2 separate regions of the Homo sapiens genome follow, and region 1 is linked to region 2. The links are contacts of gene promoters, found by promoter capture Hi-C in blood cells and fetal thymus (Javierre and others, 2016). All regions are on one chromosome and are shown on one strand. The core of a region is centred on a gene start or on the middle of the fragment in contact, and the rest is flanking DNA. Distances in the headings are between cores, read along the strand shown.

What was found. The method cuts DNA at HindIII sites, captures the fragments that hold promoters and counts their contacts. A CHiCAGO score of 5 or more calls a contact.
Region 1: a contact is called between a fragment that was not itself captured here and the fragment with the promoter of CCDC28B in region 2, in 15 of 17 cell types (non-activated CD4 T cells, naive CD4 T cells, total CD8 T cells and 12 more). The highest score is 20.1, in non-activated CD4 T cells.

What each region holds. Positions count from the first base shown.
Region 1 is chr1:32,390,329-32,395,609 of GRCh38, forward strand. It overlaps BSDC1 (BSD domain containing 1), which reads right to left and starts at 4,113. Exons shown (of 11, transcript NM_018045.8): 1 at 4,076-4,113; 2 at 3,752-3,812. The coding sequence starts at 4,086. RefSeq lists enhancers at 3,154-3,851, 3,839-4,128, 3,852-4,547, 4,419-4,498, 5,246-5,281. The HindIII fragment of the contact is 1,550 bases long and covers 2,789-4,338 here.
Region 2 is chr1:32,197,821-32,203,644 of GRCh38, forward strand. It overlaps CCDC28B (coiled-coil domain containing 28B), which reads left to right and starts at 2,775. Exons shown (of 6, transcript NM_024296.5): 1 at 2,775-2,889; 2 at 4,093-4,279. The coding sequence starts at 4,116. It overlaps TXLNA (taxilin alpha), which reads left to right. Exons shown (of 11, transcript NM_175852.4): 11 at 1-465. RefSeq lists enhancers at 1,434-1,992, 1,993-2,550, 2,763-2,842, 3,101-3,620, 3,533-3,752 and 2 more. The HindIII fragment of the contact is 8,664 bases long and covers 1-5,824 here.

The sequences.
Region 1 (5,281 bases), core at 2,314-4,813, 190 kb after region 2:
CAATGCTAGTAAAGATGGAGAGGATGAGACTGGTTCAAGATACAGGAGATGGAAGAAGGTGGATTTGGTGACTGAACAGGTATGTTGACTGAGGGCTAGAAAAGAATCATGGAAGCACCACAGGCTGCTAAAATAGGTGACTGCGTAGATGCAGTACTGCCAGCTAAGTGAGAAAATCCTGGAGGAGGAGCAGTCCTAGAGACAAGGTGGTAACAATGACTTTGGGCACGCAGAACTTGAGATGACTGTGGGCTGTCTAGGATAGCTGTCCAGCAATAGCTATCCTCAAACACTAAAGCTGGCCGGGCATGGTGGCTCATGCCTGTAGTCCCAGCACTTTGGGAGACCAAGGTGGGCAGACTGCTTGAGCCTAGGGGTTTGAGACCAGCCTGGGCAACATGGCGAGATCTCATCTCTACAAAAAATACAAAAATTAGTTGGGCGTGATGGTACACGCCTATAGTCCCAGCTACTTGGGGGCCTGAGGTGGGAGGATTGCTTGAATCCAGGAAGTGGAGGTTGCAGAGAACCATGTTTGCATCACTGCACTTCAGCTTGGGTGACAAAGTGAGAGCCCATCTCAAAACAAAGCAAAACACAACACTAAAGTTCAGGCAAAAGGTCTAAGAGTCGCCCTAACAGGAAAGTGGAGAAGGTGACCCAGGAAGAGTTTGGAAAGTGGACAGAGCAATGGGCTGAGGACAAGTGTCCTCAGACACTACCTGTAGGGGGCAAGCAGAGGAAGAGGAACTCATGAGACAGTTACAAAAGCAACGTCTGGAGAAGTATGTGGAGACTTAAGAATCATGTCACAAATGCCAAGAGAGTAGCGTTTCAAGAGAGGGAGTGATCACTAGCGTCAAATGCAGCAGAATGGTCCAGGAAGATAAGGGCTGAAAACCACCCACTGGATTTGGCAAGCAGTAGGTAAAGCTGACTGAGTAAAGATAAGTTTATAGGTGGTGGCTTTGAGGGTGGGGAGAGAGTTAAAGATCCTGTTTGTTCACCTGAAGTTTCAAAAAGTAGATGAGGTTGTCTCCTGGAAGTGAAAGGGATAAAGCGGCTGAATAGGGGACCCCAGGGAAGAGTTAGGTTTTGGGAAAGTTTCTGAAGTTAAGGGGAGGAGAAGCAAATTGGAGACTGAAGAGTATGTGGGCCCAGATGAGGTTGGGGAATCTGTGATGGAACCAAAAAGCATTTGGTGCCTTTCTCTTTTTAATTTCTTCTTTCTGGTAAGTATGTAGAGCAATGATATGCCTTTCTCTATCAACGTGTATGCACACGTATTTGTGTCAGTCATATTGCCCTTGACAACACACAGGAAGACAGGACAGGAGGAGGTAAGGAGCAGAGGAAAGCAGATGATAGCACCATCTCATAGCTGTGGTCTTCAGGGCAATGTGTTCTAAGGAGTGCTGAGAAGTGAGTGGTCCAGATGGAGCCAGAATGGGACATACAGATAGGAAAGCACCAAAAGACCAAGAAAAAAAATGGAAGGAAAAACGAACTGGGGGTGGTATCTAAGAGGTTTTCCCATCAGCCTCAGCACTTAATAACAGCTAATGCTTATATAGCACTTACTGTATGCTAGGTACTGTTCTTAGTGTTTTACATATATTAACATTTAACCATCACCACAATCTCATCAAGTAGGTATTGTTAGTATTCCCATTTTATAGATGAGGAACTGAGGCCTAGAGAGGTTAAAAACTTGCCCAAGAGGCCAGGCGTGGTGGCTCACACCTGTAATCCTAGCACTTTGGGAGGCCGAGGCAGGCGGATCACCTGAGGTCAGGAGTTTGAGACCAGCCTGGCCAACATGGTGAAACCCTGTCTCTATTGAAAATAGAAAAATTAGCTGGGCGTGGTGGCACATGCCTGTAATCCCAGCTACTCAGGAGGCCGAGGCAGGAGAATCACTTGAACTCAGGAGGCGGAAGTTGCAGAGCTGAGACTGAGCCACTGCACTCCAGCCTGGTAACAGAGCCAGACTTGGTCTCAAAAACAAACAAACAAAAAACAAAAAACACTTGCCCAAGTACATATAAGAGTAAGAAAGTAAAAAAAGGGAAATTACGTCTTTTCTTTCCAAAAAGGCATAAACAACTCCCACCTCCACCCCCACCCCAGCTTTTAACTGGGAATTCCAAGAATGAAGACGGAAGGTTGGCCAACTATCTATTTTTCATAAGTTATGATAAGACCAACCTTGAGACAAACACAGGAGGCCCTCATGCAACATCTGCTGAATGAATGTCAGACTTTCCTGCCAGGAAATTACCCAACAGGAAATATGCTACTATCGGGTCTCTTCTATCAAATGTTAGGGTGCAAGCCTCTCAGTCCTCATCAACAACATAAACAGCTCAGGGCATTCTCAGATTTGCTGGGCTATTGCTGAGAGGCTGTCCAGGAGTACCCAGGATAAGGGAGGAATAAAAACGCTCCCAGATGTCTGGGTGTGGTGGCTCACGCCTATAATCCCAGCACTTTGGGAAGCTGAGGCAGGTGGCTCACCTGAGGTGAGGAGTTCGAGACCAGTCTGGCCAACATGGTGAAACCCTGTCTCTACTAAAAATACAAAAATTAGCCAGGAGTAGTGGCACATGCCTGTAATCCCAGCTACTCGGGAGGCTGAGGCACAAGAATCACTTCAATCTGGGAGGCAGAGGTTGCAGCGAGCTGAGACCGCACCTGTGCACTCCAGCCTAGGTGACAGAGTGAGACTCTGTCTCAAAACAAAACAAAAATACTCCCAGAGTAGAGGACTTATTTAGGTGAGGTCAGAAGCTTCCTGGAGTTGGCCCTGAAGCAGGACTCATCCCAATTGCTTGAGGTAAATAGTAATCAACTTTTCCCACAATTCAGTTGGGCTGATTTTGACAAATAAGCATGAAATGAAACAGGAATACACATTGGCAAATTACCCACTGGCACAGCCAAATATCACTCATCCCACAGAGATTGTTCAGCAAGAAGGCCTTCCACTCTCTGGTGATTAATCTCTCTCTCTCTACTGCCCGTTGCATAGCCCCTACTTAGAACTCATCAGGCACCAGTGTGTATGGCTCATGCTCATCTCTGGCTTGGGTTCTTGCTTTTCATCCTGTCTAGGCAGGGTTGCCCTTGATGAGGTTCCTTCTCCACAGGGGCCTTCCCTGGTGAGTTACTGACTAACCAGAACAGACAAGGTGCCCCTGTACTTTCCTTTCACAGAACTTACCACAACGGTAACTAAACAACTATTTGTTTGGCTACTCGGTTAATGGCTGTCTCTCCACTAGACTGTGAGCTTTGTAAGGCCCAGGATTACATCTGTTTGGCTGAAGTCTGTATCCTCAAGACCTATCAGAGTGCTGGTTGTCGCATATACTCTAATATTTGAATGACTATACGAGTAAGTTTTTTTACTGCTAGAATCTTTTCCTTCAAGACCTGTATCAAATGCTCTCTCTTTCACGAAGAAACTGAATTTCCTGAGCTGGAATAAATTGCTCCTTCCTATGGATTCCTACAAAACGTTCGTTAACTCCAGCCTTTAAAACCATCTTTATTTCACTGTGGCTAGTATCACACTGGTTTGCGTCGAGGTCTGTCTTCCCGTGGACCGGTAGAGGCTAAAAGAAAGGCCCAGGTCAGCCTCATCCTTGAGACTTAGCGCCCGCAAAAGTTGGGCGGGGCTGGTTGGACCAGGTTGCATTGAGGCGGCGCAGGGCCCTGCTGAGGGAAGAAGGGCACGGGCCCGGCTTACCTTCTCTTTGACTGCTTGGTAGCTCTGCTGCAGCCAGCTCCGCCACCATCCCACGTCCTCCCTGTGGAAGACAGACACATCTGGCAGCACCGCGGTGCGATTCCTGCCCGCCCAAGGATCCGGTTTGTTCCCCGCTCAGATGTACCCTGCGGGCCGAGGCTTCGCAGACCGCTTGCCCACCCCCTCACAATGCGACTCCACTCTGCCCTTTCAGATCAGTCCACGCCCCCGCTGATCTCACGTTCCCCACCGGGACTCTCGCCCAGCACCCCAACCCTGGGAGAATTCAGGCCCCAACGCCTAGGAGCAAAACGACAAGCTCACCCTTCCGCCATCTTGCCTGCATGACATCACCACTATTTACTGACCTTTGACTTCCGACACGGCACCGCCCCCTCAAGGACCGCCCCCGAGGCGCTCGGCCCAATCCTCGCGCCGGCACCGCCCTCAGCCCAATCCCCTCCCTGCGCCATCATTAGGTCCCGCCTCCCTGAACTCTATCCAGTCTCTGTCCCGAGTTCGCCCTCAAACTCCGCCCCTGAACTCTCAGTTCAATCGTCATTCAGTCCTGTCCTCAGGCTCCACCAAGCTTGACTCTTTGTCACTGTCCGCAAACGTCGGGTACGGTGGCCTCTATGGACGATGATCAGCCGACAAGCTGGACTGCGGAGAGCTGGGAGCAGAGGGGAGGAGGAGAGATAGCTCGAACGTCAGGATCCCAGAGCGCAGGGTTAGGACCGCCCCCCTTTGTGAAACCAGCTGCGTAGAGGCTGCTTTGTGTCTCTTTGGGCTAATTCAATAAGCCCATATTGCGGGGCTGTGGCCCAGAGTTTGGAGGAATGTGAATAATTCAGAGGCGACTTAGATGCAGCCTTTGGAGGGCTTACGGGTTAATGGGAGACACACACATTCAGTAATCTCAACTTTCGGTGGCCCAGCTCAGAACAACGCCAGGTGGAGGTGGTCTGGAGAAATCCGGAGACCGCCTGGATTGAGTTCTACTGCGATTGGAAGGGAGATTCCACAGCCCACATACTTTGGACTTTAATTAAGGTCAGCCCCTCCACGTGTGCGGTAGATCCCATCGCCTCTTGTTTGCTTAAGGACATAGATCTAGTAATCCCCCCTTCATCTCTTTTCCCTCTGATGACTGCATTTATCCTTGTCATCATCCGTACTGCTGTTTCTCCCATCTCAAAGGCAAACAAAAACCAGCCCTCTCTATATCCCTCACCGTTTCCCTACTCCCCTTTACAGCAAAAGCGTTGCCTACTCACAGTCTGCAACTCCCCTCTCCTCCCATTCTCTCTTGAACTCACTGCAGTTAGGTTTTTGCCTCTCAGACAATCCTTTGAAATAACTTTCTTTTATTTATTTAATTTTATTTAATTTTATTTATTTTATATTTATTTGTAGCTCTGCTGCAGCCAGCTCCGCCACCATCCCACGTCCTCCCTGTGGAAGACGGACACATCTATTTTATTTATTTATTTATTTTTGGTCCTCCCTGTGGAAGACGGAAACATCTAT
Region 2 (5,824 bases), core at 1,525-4,024:
TTTTATTTGTTGTTTGTTTTCCATGAGGTTATCGGACCATGGGCTGAGCTCAGGCACTTTCTGTAGGAGACTGTTATTTCTGTAAAGATGGTTATTTAACCCTCCTCCACCCCATCACGGTGGCCCTGAGGGCTGACCCGGAGGCCAGTGGAGCTGCCTGGTGTCCACGGGGGAGGGCCAAGGCCTGCTGAGCTGATTCTCCAGCTGCTGCCCCAGCCTTTCCGCCTTGCACAGCACAGAGGTGGTCACCCCAGGGACAGCCAGGCACCTGCTCCTCTTGCCCTTCCTGGGGGAAGGGAGCTGCCTTCTGTCCCTGTAACTGCTTTCCTTATGGCCCAGCCCGGCCACTCAGACTTGTTTGAAGCTGCACTGGCAGCTTTTTTGTCTCCTTTGGGTATTCACAACAGCCAGGGACTTGATTTTGATGTATTTTAAACCACATTAAATAAAGAGTCTGTTGCCTTACTTGTTTCTCTCCTGACCTGTGTATTCCTTTGTTTCTGGATCTGATCCATTCAGCCCCTTCCATCATCACTGACTTGTTCAGGTCTGCTGCAGAGCGCCCATGGTGGTTCCCTGGTATCTTACATATTCCACAGTGTCTTTGAGCAGTCGCCACAGCCTCAGGATGCTGGCATATTCACTTGAGCTGCCTGAGTGGAGCCCTTGGCAAAGTTGGCAAGACCCTTGCCTCAGAGAGGATCACACACACACAAAAAAGTTTTCCCTGACCTGGGGGCTCACAGGCTAGTGAAGGGAAAAGGTACTTTTAGCTATAGACAGGTCAATGGTGCTGAGAGCAGAGAGGAGGCCCCTGCCCCCTTCAGCAAGGTGAGGGGGTGATACCTGGAATGGCCTTCTGAACCACAGGGCAGGTAGAAGATGAACGTCATTTAGTGATTAAATGGTACAGCTGGGAAGCAGGTCCATGGGACTGGGAGAGGGGGTGAGGCTGGGCCCAGAGTCTGGGTACCAGGTTAAGGAATGTGGGCTAGATCCAGAGGGCAGGGGGGGCAACTGAAGGTGTTTCAATAGGAAATTGATAGGCTCCAGCAGTAAGGCAAAAGGCATGGAGCCAGGCATAGGCCATTTGAGGCCCAGGTTAAGAGGGGTGGACACTCATCACTGCTATTTGGGTCTGAGCTGTGGGTAGGCTCCTATAGCCCTGGCCTGCCCAAGGGAATTCACAGGGGCCTCTAATTGTATGCATTCCTTAAGGAGAGCACATTCTCTGTTCAGTTTTTACACCCCCCATTTACCCACCTCAAGCATGGGACTCCTATATGGGAGACATGCTGCTGGTGGCCTCACCCAGCACCCTGTTCTCTCTGGGTCCTGGGTTGGTCAGGCACAAAGGATGATATGTGCTGAATGCCCAGGAAATGGCAGAGACAACCCACCTGCCCTTCCCTCCAGGCCTCCACAAATAGATGTGCCCACAATGACTGTGACAGTCCCAGCAGAGCCTCTGACCCTTCTAGCTGGGTCCTGATACATGTTTTCCATGCTGGCCATGTTATTTCTAGTCGCAGATCCTCTGGAGGGTGTGGGGGGGGTGCCGCCCCAACTCTTGGAGATTCCAAGCAAAGCAGCTCTGAGAATAATGAGGTTTCTGACCCCCCAGTGAAGCAGCTGAGGATGGGAACCACAGGGGTGCTCCCTCTGTCAGCAGCATTACCACTGTCTACTCTAGCAGCTCCGGTGGGGAAGGAGAGGGATTTCTGTTGTCCCCAGTCTGGGCCCCTGGTTATTGAAAAAGTTCGGAATTACTCTTTACCCTTGTGGAGTGTTCTGAGTGTTGGAAGTACCCAGGAAGAAGCCCTGAGCAGGTGCCCTCAGGAGCAGTGCCCATGGCTCCCCACATCAGCCAAGAGGCCCAACCCCAGGAAGCCACTCCTGCCCGGGGATGGGGAAGGTGGGCTGGGTGGCTGTGTGCACTGCCCTGGGCCAGCTCACTTGAGCCTGCTGAGCCGCCTGGCCAAACATGAGCCTCTCTCCTGTTGTATCAGATGCTGTTCTGGGGACCTGCGCCAGGAGCCTCTGCCAGGGCTTTAAATAGCTGCCCCCATTGATCTGGCTGCAGGCAGCAGCAGTCACACTGGGTCAGCCTCCATCAGGTGCTCAGGTTTCCCTGAGGACTGGAGTCAGGTGCCAGGGAATCGCGTGGTCTACCTTATGACCTGGTGCTCCCCACACCTGTCTCCTAGGCCTGGGGGGTGGGGAGGACTCCTGTCACTTCATCTGCGGCAAAATACAGCCCCCACCACTTACCAGAGAAAACTGTCTGGCATTGTAGAGAGAGGGGTTTTGCCCTCAAAAGACTGTTGCTTACTTTCAGTAGAATGGGGAATGACACTGGTATCTTCCTTAAGGGTTGTTATGGGGATGAAATGTATGTAAAGTGCTCAATAGGGCACTGGACTCACTCCATTGATGGCTGTCTTTGCTCGAAGTGTCTTCCTGATGCTGCTGCTGTTGCTGCTTGTGCTTCTTCTGTGCTTACATTCTCTCTCTCTCACTCACTCACTCTGTCTCTCCTCTCCCCCGCCCCACCCCCTTTCTGACAAAGCCACCACCATTTTGTAAGGAACTGTAGCTTCTCTCTGAAACTGCCGGGAAAGGGAAAATCTTTTTAAAATAGACATCACACAACCAACAGGGTCCCCTAGGTTCAGGCGGGGAGGTGAGGTCGAGTGAGAGGAACTGCTTAGCATACGCGGGGATGCTCCTCCCATCTCACCCCACCGCGCTAAGGAGAAGGTCACTTTCTCTTTAAATGCAAATGAACTCCCTCCAGCTTAGCTTTCACCCGGTGGTGTTCCCGGGAGGAGAGGGCGGAGGGCGGAGGGAACTTGCACCGAAGCATCACTCGAGACCCCAAACCTCCAGGTCAGTAGCCCCCTGAGGGAGTGAGGGCGGGGGCGGAATGACGCGGGTCTGACGCTCTGTCTTCGAGCGCGGCTGCGGAGCTGAGCGATGAGTTTGGCACATGGCTTTGGAGCCCGGGCTTGGGAAATAGATCCCCGGTCGCCCCAGCCGCTCCTGGGGAGCACAGGCTCCGGCTCCAGTTCTTCTATCAGGTCCCTAATTGGGTCAAGCTGCTGCACGGAGAGGCAGAGGATGCGCTCCTATCTCCCCTCCCCACACCCGCAGACCCCGTCAGTGGCAGCCAGCTATGTGTCAGTGTAAATGCTTAAGCGCCACCCACCCCCCCAACCCCCCCAGTCCCAGAATTCGAAGTTAGGCTCGGTAGCAGCAGCCTGGAATGAGACCCCCAGAGGAGGGAACCCCAGCCGACCGGAGGCTTGGGGGGCGCTGCTGGACCGGGGACCTCGGAGCAGCCCAGCCACAGGCGCAGCCTTTGTCGGAGGCCCAGGCAGCCAGCGGCCAACCACCCAGTCCACCCTGGCTGCAGCTGAAGCCCAGCAGGGACTTTCCGACTGGGAAAAATGAAGCAGCTGAAAGCACACCCGCGGGACCTATAGGGAGTCCCTAATATTTTCGGTTGGGGGTGGGTGGAAGTGGAGGGATGCCGGTGTCTATGTGGGGGAAACCCACAATGAACCCTGCCCTGTATGCTGCGGCTTCTCCTACAATTACCCACACGCTGGGGCTTTCCCAGGCGCCCCTACCTGCACCTTGTCCCCCTCCCATGCTGACAGGGTTTGTTAGCATCTGCTTAGGCCCCTGATAAATAGAATAGGGTTTAGTTAAGACATCCCTAATCTTCGGCTGGGCTTCTGCAGCTCACCTCCGTCTTGTCTCCCACTACATTTCCTCTGCCAGCCCCGCCCCCCAGCCACCGTGACAGGAAGCCCCAGTAGCGCCAAGATAGTTGTGACTGGTCCCACCCTTTCAGGAGGGGCCTAGGTTTTCAGGCAGAAGGGGAATTAGGTTGGGCCTTAGAAGGTCCTTCAAGTGTACATCCACGATCCCAGCAGCAGACACTGGCATCTGGCTCTGCCCCTACCGTATAGATGAGGTGACAAGCTGGAAGGTCCCAGGGCCCTTCCTTGGTGCAGCTCTCAGGGATTTCTGGGTGAAGGGCTAACTTTGCCCCTGGCTATCTTTGTGGGGTTGCTTCCCTCCTAGGCCTGAGGCCCAGCCAGCGCCCAATGGATGACAAAAAGAAGAAACGGAGTCCCAAGCCCTGCCTGGCCCAGCCAGCCCAGGCCCCAGGCACACTACGGAGGGTCCCTGTGCCTACCAGCCACAGCGGCTCCTTGGCCCTAGGACTTCCTCATCTGCCATCCCCCAAGCAGCGGGCCAAGTTCAAGAGGTGGGTACAGAAGGGAAGGAAAGGAGGAGGGACCCCAACTCTGGGTTGCACTGTAGAGAGGAAGGCAAGGGGGGCCTCCGCCTTTAGTTCCTAAGCAATAATTGATGCCTTTCTGGAGCAGACCCCTGAGAACTCAGAGCTCACTCAGACCCAGTCCCTACCCTCAACTGTGTGGCAAAAAGGCCAGGTGGGTCACTGGGATCACATAGCGTGAGGATTCGCCTCAGAGGAGGGAGTGAGCAACTCTGCAAGAAAGTGAATGTTCCACGCTGAGAGGCTTACCTGGTATAAATATGGAAGAAAGCTATTACCTGAAAGGTTTCAGGAACCACAGGTGGTTTGGGGGCCCTGGAGTATCAGGGAACAGGAAATGGTGAGGAAATACCTGGGGGCACAATTTGAATTCTCTGTTGAATTTTTTTTATGATTGGGAGTTTGCATGCTGCCTTATAATGTGTCCATGTTTGTTCCCCACTAAATACAATGTATTCTTTCTCCAGTTGCTCCAGATAAGACCACTGTGTTTCCCCCTGGTTTTGCACACCACTTGCCTAAGGGGCATGAAGCTCAAGGCTGTGGGGAGAGTAGCAGGAAAGGCAACTGGGAAGGCAGGAGGGCCAGGCTGGCAGGGGCATTCAATTTTATCCTGAGAGCAGTGGAAATTTTAAGACAGTTTTTTTGGTTTATTGGTTTGGCTTTGTTTTCTATGTATTTTTGTTTTTGTTTAAAAGAGTTTTTAAATAGAAGAGGGTTGGCTGGGCATGGTGGCTCAGCCTATAATCCCAGCACTTGGGGACGCTGAGGCAGGCAGATCACCTGAGGTCAGAAGTTTGAGACCAGCTTGGTCAACATGGTGAAACCTCATCTCTGTTAAAAATACAAAAGTTAGCCAGGCGTGATGGTGGGTGCCTATAATCCCAGCAACTTGGGAGGCTGAGGCACAAGAATCACTTGAACCTGGAAGGCAGAGGTTGCAGTGAACCGAGATTGTGCCACTGCACTCCAGCCTGTGTGACAGTGAGACTCTGTCTCAAACAAAAAAAAAATTTTTTTTTTAATTAAAAAAAAAGAAGAGGGCTAGGGGCAGTGGCTCAGGCCTGTAATCCTAGCACTGTGGAAGGCCAAGACAGGCAGATGACCTGAGGTCAGGAGTTCAAGACCAGCCTGGCCAACACGGTGAAACCCCAACTCTACTAAAAGTAAAAAAAATTAGCAGGGCATAGTGGCAGGCGCCCATAATGCCAGCAACTTGGGAGGCTGAGGCAAGAGAATCACTTGAACCCAGGAGGCGAGGTTGCAGTGAGCCGAGATCACACCACTGCACTCCAGCCTGGGCAACAGAGCGAGACTCTGTCTCAAAAAACAAAAAAAAAGAAGAGGGGCAGAAAGATATTTTGGGAGGAGGTAAGACAGCCCTGGTGGCAATAAGGGAGTAGCTGTCTCTATATACGCTGAAGACTAGGGAGGATAAGTGACTCATTCAGGGTCATAAAACAAATGAGTGAGGCACTCAGACAGGAACCCAGGGACCCCCTTTCAGGCACT